3 separate regions of the Homo sapiens genome follow, and all the other regions are linked to region 2. Evidence: promoter capture Hi-C in human tissues and cell types (Jung and others, 2019). All regions are on one chromosome and are shown on one strand. Each heading gives the region's core, a stretch centred on a gene start or on the middle of the fragment in contact. The rest is flanking DNA. Distances are from core to core; before and after follow the strand shown.

Evidence for each region. Contacts are between HindIII fragments. The study calls those that stand out against the background at their distance.
Region 1: a contact is called between a fragment that was not itself captured here and the fragment with the promoter of SPATA24 in region 2, in 1 of the 25 tissues and cell types used here (dorsolateral prefrontal cortex).
Region 3: a contact is called between a fragment that was not itself captured here and the fragment with the promoter of SPATA24 in region 2, in 1 of the 25 tissues and cell types used here (dorsolateral prefrontal cortex).

Annotation. Positions count from the first base shown.
Region 1 is chr5:138,472,461-138,476,172 of GRCh38, reverse strand. It overlaps the pseudogene RPL7P19. Among named protein-coding and RNA genes, the nearest start is that of EGR1, 8.8 kb to the right of the region's middle. The HindIII fragment of the contact is 5,437 bases long and covers 1-3,712 here.
Region 2 is chr5:139,402,836-139,406,223 of GRCh38, reverse strand. SPATA24 (spermatogenesis associated 24) reads left to right here and starts at 2,135. Exons shown (of 6, transcript NM_194296.2): 1 at 2,135-2,280. The coding sequence starts at 2,164. RefSeq lists enhancers at 1,625-2,197, 2,143-2,372, 2,198-2,771. The HindIII fragment of the contact is 8,558 bases long and covers 1-3,388 here.
Region 3 is chr5:138,648,019-138,651,333 of GRCh38, reverse strand. No RefSeq gene overlaps it. Among named protein-coding and RNA genes, the nearest start is that of HSPA9, 74 kb to the right of the region's middle. RefSeq lists an enhancer at 44-842. The HindIII fragment of the contact is 3,444 bases long and covers 1-2,999 here.

The sequences.
Region 1 (3,712 bases), core at 862-3,361, 930 kb after region 2:
GAGGCAAGAGAACTGCTTGAACCCAGGAGGTGGCAGTTGCAGAGAGCCAAGATGGCGCCATTGCACTCCAGCCTGGGCGACAGAGTGAGACTCTGTCTCAAAAAAAAAAGATAGAAACAAATAGGAGAGAGCTTGGAGTAGAGCAATAAAAATGACAAAGGGGCCAGGGCGGTGGCTCACGCCTATAATCCCAGCACTTTGGGAGGCCGAGGTGGGTGGATCACGAGGTCAGGAGTTCAAGAACAGCCTGGCCAACATGGGGAACCCCGTCTCTACTAAAAATACAAAAATTAGCTGGGTGTGGTGGCACATGCCTGGTATCCCAGCTACTCGGGAGGCTGAGGCACGAGAATCGCTTGAACCCGGGAGGCGGAGGTTGCAGTGACCCAAGATCCTGCCACTGCACTCCAGCCTGGTGACAGAGCAAGACTCTGTCTCAAAAAAAAAAAAAAAAAAAAAAAAAAAAAGACAAAGGGGCTCGCTCTGTTTAATTGAGCAATGATTAAAGGAAGCATATCTTTTAGGAGACTTTGACTGTGAGTGTGGGAGAAGATGGGTGCTTGTTGTTTTAAGCACCAGGGATGTGAAAAAATGTGGATATGGTGGGAAGAAGGAGCCAGAACAGTTGGGGGGAAACTTTGGAGTAAATGTGGACACATCCACACAAGGACTTGTGCTCCAATAATCACAGCAGCTTTATCCATAATAGCGCCAAAGGAACCAGCCCAGATGTCCCTCCACAGGGGAAAGGATGAACAACTGGGGCACAGCCATATAGCAGAATGCTACTTGGCAATGAAAAGGAGTGAACTATTTGCAGTGTACACACAGCAACATCAGTGAATCCTGAACAGTGATGCTAAGTGAAGTAAGCCAGATCAAATCAAGGACATATGGAATGATTCCATATATAAGACCCTCTATCCTCTTTTTCCGGCTGGAACATGCAGGGTGTAGAAGAGAAGAAGAAGGTTCCTGCTGTGCCAGAAACCCTTAAGAAAAAGCGAAGGAGTCCGGGCGTGGTGGCTCACGCCTGTACTCCCAACACTTTGGGAGGCTAAGGCGGGCGGATCACCTGACGTTGGAAGTTTGAGAGCAGCCTGATCAATATGGAGAAACCCTTCTCTACTAAAATTACAAAATTAGCTGGGCGTGGTGGCACATGCCTGTAATCCCAGCTACTCGGGAGGCTGAGGCAGGAGAATCGCTTGAACCCGGGAGGCGGAGGTTGCAGTGAGCCAAGAGTGTGCCACTGCACTCCAGCCTGGGCAACAAGAGCGAAACTCCTTCTCAAAAAAAAAAAAAAGAAAAGAAAAAGAAAAAGAATTTCGAAGAGCTGGAAATCAAGCACCTGAGAAAGAAGTTTGCCCAAAAGATGCTTCAAAAGGCAAGGAGGAGGCCGGGCATGTTTTTTTTTTTTTCAGTTTGAGAGTAGGTACTGTTTTATTTATTTATTTATTTGTCTTTTTTTTGAGATGGAGTCTCGCTCTGTCGCCCAGGCTGGAGTGCAGTGGTGCAATCTCAGCTCACTGCAAGCCCTGCCTCCTGGGTTCACACCATTCTCCTGCCTCAGCCTCCCCAGTAGCTGGGACTACAGGCGCCCGCCACCATGCTCAGCTAATTTTTTTGTATTTTTAGTAGAGGTGGGGTTTCACCGTGTTAGGCAGGATGGTATCGAACTCCTGACTTTGTGATCTACCCGCCTCTGCCTCCCAAAGTGCTGGGATTACAGGAATGAGCCACCACGCCCAGCCAAGAGTAGGTACTGTTTATTAACTGACCACCTTAGAAAAATAATCATGGTAGACACCTTAGTTCATTCTTCTAATAAGCCTGTTGATCTGGTCCTCCCTGTTGCTAGCATCTCCACCTTCTACAAAATGGGTGGTCTTTTTCTTCATTCCGCCTCGTGGAGAAGATAATTTGAAGGGCCACAGGTAGTTATTTGCTTCTTTGAAGCATTTTCCAACAGTATAGATCTCATGAATCAGATCCTCCAGGCAGATGATGCCATATTTACCAAGAGATCAAGCAATCAAAGTGTTATGTATCAAAGCAATTCGCTTCTTATTGATTTTGCCATAACCATGCTTGTAAATTAGTTCATTTACTGACTTCAGATTTGGGTATCCCCATGCAATATATGGGTCTACAATCCTCAGCATGTTAACTGAAGCCTGTTGAGCTTCACAAAGTTTCCACTGAAGTTTGACAAAGGCAAAGAAGCTGCAACACCTTTCAGACCTTTGGGCTCACACCATTGATGCCTCTGATCCTGATGACAAACGCCAATTTGGGTTCTGCAGGTACATAGAAGTTGCCAGCTTTTCTTGCCATCCTCGCCATTCGAATTTCAGTTCTGTACATCTGCCTATATTCCTTGTGATAGTGCTTTTCTTTTTCACAGATAAGCTTCCTCCTTGCCTTTCTTTCTTTTCTTTCTTTTTTTGAGATGGAGTTTTGCTCTTGTTGCCCAAACTGGAGTGCAGTGGTGCAATCTTGGCTCACTGCAACCTCTGCCTCCGGGGTTCAAGCGATTCTCCTGCTTCAGCCTCCTGAGTAGCTGGGACTACAGGTGCCTGCCACGATGCCTGGCTAATTTTTGTATTTTTAGTAGAGACCAGATTTCACCATGTTGGCCAGGCTGGTCTTGAACTCCTGACCTCAGATGATCCACCTGCCTCGGCCCCTCAAAGTGCTGGGATTACAGTCATGAGCTACCGCACCTGGCTTAAAAAATACAAAAATAGTTTAAAAAAACTTTTTTTGAAACCAGGTCTTGCTCTGCTGCCCAAGCTGGAGTGAAGAGGCACAATCTCAGCTCACTGCAGCCTTGATGTCCCAGGCTCAAGCAATCCTCCTACCTCAGCGTCTCGAGTATCTGGAACTACAGGCATGGGCTGCCATGCCTGGTTTATTTTATTTTTTTGTAGAGACGGGGTCTCCCTATGTTGCCCAGGCTGGTCTTGAACTCCTGGGCTCAAGCAATCTCTAGCCTCAGCCTCCCAAAGTGCAGTAATTACAGGTGTGAGCCACCATACACAGCCCTCAATAGAGTTGTAATAATAATTTTTAAAACCCTAAGTGCTAAGGAGAATGGGCTTGATGGAGAGAACTCCCTGGAAAGGGAAATGAGATTTTACTTGCATCTGAGTTGCTGGGCCACCGATCTGACCTAAGAGGTCATCTGAAGTAAGCTTAGCCACAGAGGCTCTCCTAGGTCCTAGTAATGGAGATAAGGAGACTGAGAGAAAAATTACTGAAGTAGAGGGTTAGATTTGCTATTTGGGTGCAAAAATCTTATTAGCACCCAAAGGTTTCTGGGTAAAATGTTGAAATGTTATTTGCTTGACATCTGATTCTTTTAAACTTGGCCTCATTTCCCTTAGGACTCTGGGATATCCCTCTGCCCAATGGCTTCCCCTCTCCAACTGCATTAAGTGTGTCCTGAAACAGTGAAAACAGTGTGGATGCAGGGAGGGGGACTGGCAGGGAATACCTTTGACCCTATAGTACTCTTACCTGCCTCCAGTTCCATACCTGGGGGATAGGGGCGGTTCTGAATAGGGGGAAGGTGGAAGGAAACACACTGAAAACTCCAGCGTGCTGCAAATCCCGGGCCAAGCTCCGCCTTCCTGAGTGCTTGGAATCTTTCAAAACAGGTGAGAACGAGGCTGAACGTTCCTGAAATTCAAGCAAAAGAGTACCTTTC
Region 2 (3,388 bases), core at 886-3,385:
TTGAACTGTATTGTTCTAGGCCCTTTAACAGAGGTCGGCCGGGCACAGTGGCTCACGCCTATAATCCCAGCACTGTGGGAGGCTAAGGTTGGCCGATCACCTGAGGTCAGGAGTTCGAGACCAGCCTAGCCAACATGGTGAAGCCCCGTCTCTACAAAAATACAAAAAAATCACCTGGGTATGATAGCAGCTGCCTGTAATCCCAGCTACTGGGGAGGCTGAGTTGGGAGAATCGCTCAAACCTGGGAGGCAGAGGTTGCAGTGAGCCAAGATTGCTCCACTGCACTCCAGCCTGGGCGACAGAGCAAGACTCCATCTCAAAAAAAAAAGAAAAGAAAAAAAGAAAAAAAAAAGAGAACATGGTGAAACCCTATCTCTACTAAAAATACAAAAAATTAGCCGGGCATGGTGGCGGGCGCCTGTAGTCCCAGCTGTTCGGGAAGCTGAAGCAGGAGAATGGTGTGAACCCCGGTTGGGGCAGAGCTTGCAGTGAGCCAAGATCGCACCACTGCACTCCACCCTGGGCATCAGAGCAAGACTCCGTCTCAAAAAAAAAAAAAAAAAAAAAGAGAGAGAGGTCAGCAGAGATGGCCTTGTCTCCAAGTCCATGAAAATAAACGCAAGAAACAAAACAAGGGCTCCCGCTGAGAGAACCACAGGGATGGCCAAGTTTGTCAGGCCCCCCGGGGGGTTTTGGGGAGCGGCTTGAATGACTTACCCTGAGCTTTCTGCCTCCTTTCATAGTCACTGGTAACTTTTTTTCCAAACTCCTTGTTAGTATAGTCATTTCCTACTTGGGGGTATCAAATTCCATAACTTCCACCCATGACGTGCAACACAAATGCAGCACAACATCCTGGTTAAGAACATGAACTCCAGGCCCAGCGCGGTGGCTCATGCCTGTAATCCCAGCACTTTGGGAGGCCGAGGCAGGCGGATCACCTGAGGTCAGGAGTTCGAGACCAGCCTGGCCAACATGGTGAAACCCCGTATCTACTAAAAATAAGAAAATTAGCCAGGCGTGGTGGCGGGCGCCTGTAATCCCAGCTACTTGGGAGGCTGAGGCAGAAGAATCCCTTAAACCCGGAAGGTGAAGTTTGCAGTGAGCCGAGATCACGTCCCTGCACTCCAGCCTGGGCGACAGAGCGAGACTACATCTCAAAAAACAAACAAACAAAAACACGGACCCTGGAACCAAACTGCCCATAGCAGAACTCCGTTCCACAACTTACTAGAGTGACCTTGGGCAAGTTATTCATTCTCATTCTCATAGAGCCTAGGTAAAAAGGGGCTGATAGGAGTTCCATGAGGGTCACATGAAATAATATAAACATAACGGTGCCACGAAATAGTGAACACAATATATATTCGCTCTGATGTTCTCCAAACCTAATCTTATTTGGGTTTCCAAGAAAAAAAAAAAAGCCTTCAATAGAGACTTGGTGAGTGTGCGTAATCACCGTATCCTTCCCTGACTTCATTTTACTAAACTCTCCTCCTTCAAGCCCTCTTCAGTCCTCCTAATCTCTTCAGGGTCCTCCTCCTCGGGTGGTGGCACATGACTCTAGTGCAGACTCTAGTGCCCAGAGCCTGGTATCAGAGTATGAAGACTTTGATCTCAGGTGTAGCCATTCTCATTTTTTATCTTCGTCTATCTTCCGTGCTTAGGCTTAGGACCCCTAAGTACTAAGTGTGTTCCAGGAGGCTGGAATCTCATACAATGGAGGAAATTTGGAGATTAGGATAAAGATTTGGAGAAAGAGGCATGAGAAGCTAAAGATGCAGGAGTTGCCTATGCTGGCTCTTGCTTCGTGGTCATGCAGTTTAACAGGCCCTGGGTGAAGGCTGAGGGCTGCTGTTTTGAGTGTTGCCTGCTCGCAGGCAAGGAAAGTACAAGCCGGGCCCTGCCGGCTTCTCAGGACTGCGTGAGAAACAGAAGACGCAATAAAAGCGCAATTTCCTGTAAACTTAAATGCCTTAAGGGTTGTCAGCAGTTTCCCCGCTCCAGGCGGCTCCTTTAAGAGGCGGCCCCTCGCCCCGCTAACATAGGAAGTCCCCGCCCCCCGTTGCCAGGGTGCTCTGTGGCGTCGCATTCTCATTGGTGGGCGACGGCGAGGATCACCCCCGAGGCAGCCATTTCCAACTAGCTGGCGGGGGCGGAAGATGGCGACGCCCCTCGGGTGGTCGAAGGCGGGGTCAGGATCTGTGTGTCTCGCTTTAGATCAACTGCGGGACGTGATTGAGTCTCAGGAGGAACTAATCCACCAGCTGAGGAACGTGGTATGCAGCCAGAGGAGTTTGGGGAGAGGCGGGGCCGGATGCCTCACTGGTGGGGGCGGGGCCAGAACCTGTTCCGATGCGGGGGCCGTGGCTAGAACGCATGGCCCATGGCGTCATCAGGAGGAGGCCGGGCTCAGTCGGTAGGGGTGGAGCCAAAAAGGGGCGGACCTTCCTGAACCAGGGAATTTTAACTAAAATCAAGCCATATTCTCCCTTCCGTTTGCCTGGTTGCTGCAAGAGCTGGTAGAGAGTCCCTGAGCCTCAGTTTCCCCATTTTCAGTGGAGATGACGTCACTGAGTTCCCATGGCCCTCCTGTGCAGGCAGAGAAACTGTCATCCCTTCTATTATGGACACCATTCCCGAGAGTCAAAGGCAGTGCCGTGTTGAATGCAGTAAGCGCAGATTTGGCCCTTGCCAGCGCTAACTTAGGGGCCTCCAAGAACTTTACATGCCTTAGCTTTTGCCTTCTCAATCAAACCCCAGCTAATGGGTGCAAAGCATTGCAGTCACAGATTACCTGGGTAGGCATGATAGAATCCTGGCCATCTGGAGTTCATGGTTTTTCTGGTTTTGTTTTCCTGTCTTGATAAGAAGGTTAGGATGTATCTCCATCTCAGAAATAAAACTGGCTTCACATCTACTTCTCATTCTAAGTTGTTCTTAGACAATTTCTTCCCTTCTGGGAAGTTGAATGTGGGGGAAAGGGGAGAGAGACCTGTCCTATTTGCTACCCTAATGCTCTCATTCAACAAAATATATGGAGCTCTAGGCACTGAATTGCCTTTGATTCCCTGAAGGTACCCAGGTCTTCCTCTTGGCAGCTGACCTTGGCATGTGTGTCCCCACCATCCAGAGTGCTTTTCTCTCTATCCCTCTTCTGGCCCACCCTATATAGCAGTCAGATCTCAGGTCTAACATCCCCTTCTCCGGAAGTGATTCTGACCCTTCCCCAGGCTGGGTTGGGGCCTCCTCTGAGCCCCAGATCCCCTTATGTCTCCCCATCAAGGCACACAACATGTTAGAAGTGCTAACTGTGGACTGCCTCCTCCATGAGACTGGCTGCTCCTTGAGGGCAGCACTTAGAGCTGAGTCTCAGTTTATCTGTGG
Region 3 (3,315 bases), core at 28-2,527, 750 kb after region 2:
CAGAGCTCCCACCTTCCTCCCGCTCCCTCCTGCCTGCCTTCAGACTATAAATCAGTTTTCAATCCTGAATGCTACCTGTAAATGTTCGAGCTCAGGATCCTCGCCTCATATTCCTATGTCCCTGGGGGGTGGTTCAGGATGTGAGTGGCTTCCCCCAGTCCTGATTCTGACATCCCAGCCCCTGATTGATGGTGAGAGGAGCAGCAGGGAAGCTGGAAATGGCTCTAGGGTCTCTGGAGCCCTGGCCTGGGGAGAGGGGTGGGCAGCTCTGGATCTGCCTGACTCAGCCAAGCCTGAACTGGATGCTCCCCAGTGTACAGAACTGTGGACATGCTCCGGACCAATTGGTGGGAAGGCATTGAAACTGACCCCTCCCCGAAAATGGCAACTTCTTTCCAGCCTTGTCAGATGTGCCAGAGCAGGCAGGTGGGCACGTTCACTGGAGTGTCCAAAAGACGGCAGCCTCGCCATAGGCTGATCTGGGGATGAAGAGGCACAGCCATGCCTTTCCCCTGAGCTGGGATGGGAAATCCCATGATGCACCTTTGAGGTGATAAAAGGACAAATCAAGAAAGAAATTCTTGGCCAGGCATTGTGGCTCATGCCTGTAATCCCAGCACTTTGGGAGACCGAGGCAGGCGGATCACCTGGTGAAACCCTGTCTCTACTAAAAATACAAAAATTATCGAGGCATGGTGCCATATGCCTGTAATCCCAGCTACTTGGGAGGCTGAGGCAGGAGAATCTCCTAAAACCCAGAGGAGGAGGTTGCAGTGAGCCGAGATTGTGCCACTGCATTCCAGCCTGAGTGACAGATCAAAACTCTGTCTCAAAAAAAAAAAAAAAAACCACACACACACACACACACACACAGAAAGAAAGAAATTTTTCTTTCTTCCTTTTTTTTTTTTTCTTTTTTAGGAGACAGAGTTGCCCCGGCTGGAGTGCAGTCGTGCGAAGCTGGCTCCCTGAAGCCTCAACTGCAGGTGTGTTATGTGTCCACCATTTACTGATCACCCCATCTGAAGACGGTCCCCCGGCCCTGACCTATTACTTTCTATCTTAGCGCCCTGTTTGTTATGGTACTAGGTATAATTCATATTATTCCATATTGTCTTGTGTCTTCATTTTTTGTGGGTTTTCACTCCTGGAGTGGAAGCTCTGTGAAGGCAGGGGCCACATTGCCTGGTCAACACTGTATTCCAGTTACTTAGCATCAAGCTTCACACATCATGGTGTTAGTTAAATACTCTTTGAATGAACTGAATGCATGGAGCCGGGGTGGGGTGGCTGCCAAAGAGAAGGTCTTCAAAGCTGAGGCTGACTCTGCCTGCTCCCCTGTGGCAGCCCCATCTGCAGACAGCAGCTGGGCAGATTCCTCCTTCCCTAGGAGACCAGGCTTATGACCCCGGGGGAATTGAGAGGCCTCTCCAGACCTTGGCCTCCTTCCTCTCCCTTGGGAAAACTCCAGTTGTGACCCCTCCTAGCTGTCCCCGGAGCTGCCTTCTGAGGACCAGGGGTTAATGGTCAGTGTTTATCACCTCCCACTCCCTGACAAGATCCCCAGGTCACTGGAAAGCTTGGCCCAGCCCAAACTGATACCTTGCATGGGCCAGGGACTCAATCTGGGGACAGCAAAGAGGGACTGAGGAGGAAGCTCCTCCACGCATTATAATATCCATGAAGTGAATGCAAATGAACTGAAAGCACCTTTTGAATAAGCAGCTTTTACTGAGGGAGCTGCTCTAATCCCTAAATGGCTTTGCTGACAGGGAGGAGCTTCCCAGTGGTGGAAGGGGTGGGAAATGGGGACACACTGTCAGGAACCGGCTCTGCAGCGCCCTTGTCCCTGCACTTTTAGATTCCGGACACGCTTCTTGTGGCTAATGGAACTCGGAGATCTCTAACCTTGGCCTCCATATTCCACTCCCTGCCCCCGCCCCCAGAGTCTGCGGAGCCCAGCTTCTGTGTTTCCAGGAGGCTGAGGCTGCTGGGTGCTGGGTCTCAGTGTCGAGTGATTCTCTGGGACTGGAAGCAGCTGAGTGTGCCTCCAGTGATGTAGCCCTGTGGGCTCTCTGGTGACCATGTGAGACATCCCTGGGCCTGTGTGTAAAGGTGTGTGGCCGTGTGCACCAGTGGGTTTGTGTCCATTTACACACCTCCTGGAAACAAGTGTCATTGTGTTTGTGCCTCTGTCTGTCCCCACCCCCACATCTCCATCCATCTGTATTCCTCCCCAGGTTAGCGGGGGCTGGCCTCAGCTGGGGAATCATGCTTTTTCAAGGACTAATGACTTTTATCAGAATGATAATGAACTGATGACACAGGGAGGCCCTGGGCTCTGGAGAGAAGCCAGAGAAGGAGCAGTTGGGGACAGAGAGGAGGCTGGTAGGGTTGGGAGGCTAGAGGACTATGCCTCCCAGAAAGGCCAGCCAGCTCCATTCCTCTTTCAGTGGGGGAAGGAGACAGGGACAGAGGAAACCCAGGGGATGTTGGAAACACATTCTCCATTTCCCTTCCCTGTCCCGCCTGCCTCTTCCTGAACCTTCCATTCCCTGCTTTGCTATTCTTCTCGCCCTCCCAGAGGACTCCCCTTGACTACGGGGCTGTGAGGCTAAAGCTGGCTATTCCCCTCTCCCAGTCTCCTTCACTCTAGCCCTTACTCAAAGCCAGGTCCTGCCCAGAGATGGAGAGGGGAGCTGCTCCTAGAATTCTGAGTGGGCAGAGACACATAGGTGGCCTGAGCAGGTCTTAGAGGACCAGAAACTTGAAAGCTGCCCCTTGGGCATGAAGCTTGTCAAGGCTAATTGGCCTCAATATTCTTTCATAATGAGTGTAGGGCCAGGTGAGTTGTCAGTGGGGAAAGGAGAGGAGAATTCAGAAGCTCACAGAACATCCACACCAGGGACTTGGGAGATCACAAAACCAGGAACTGTTCTCATTGGTCAGAGAAGATAAGTGATACCAATCTCCCAAAGGTTTCGGAGAGATTTCAGGCAGAGTCTGCAGCATGCAGGGGCTCCCTCACTGGAAAAGCTCCTTCACCTGCTGCAGAGAGGCAGCCACGTCTCCCCAAGCCGGAGCACTCTGGCCTCTAGCACAGCCTGGCATGCAGTGAATACTCAATAAACATCAGCTGTTGTGGATATTAGCATAATCTTCTGGTGGAAAGTCTCTGAGGGTGGTCCCTGCAGAGAGGGGTAAGCTTCTAGGACCCTGGGATTCACAAGGAACGGGGACAGTGCAAGGCAGGCATGGTACCAAGAGACCCAGCTTAAAGACCAAGGAGGCAGGCATGCCGGCCCCCACTGTGGC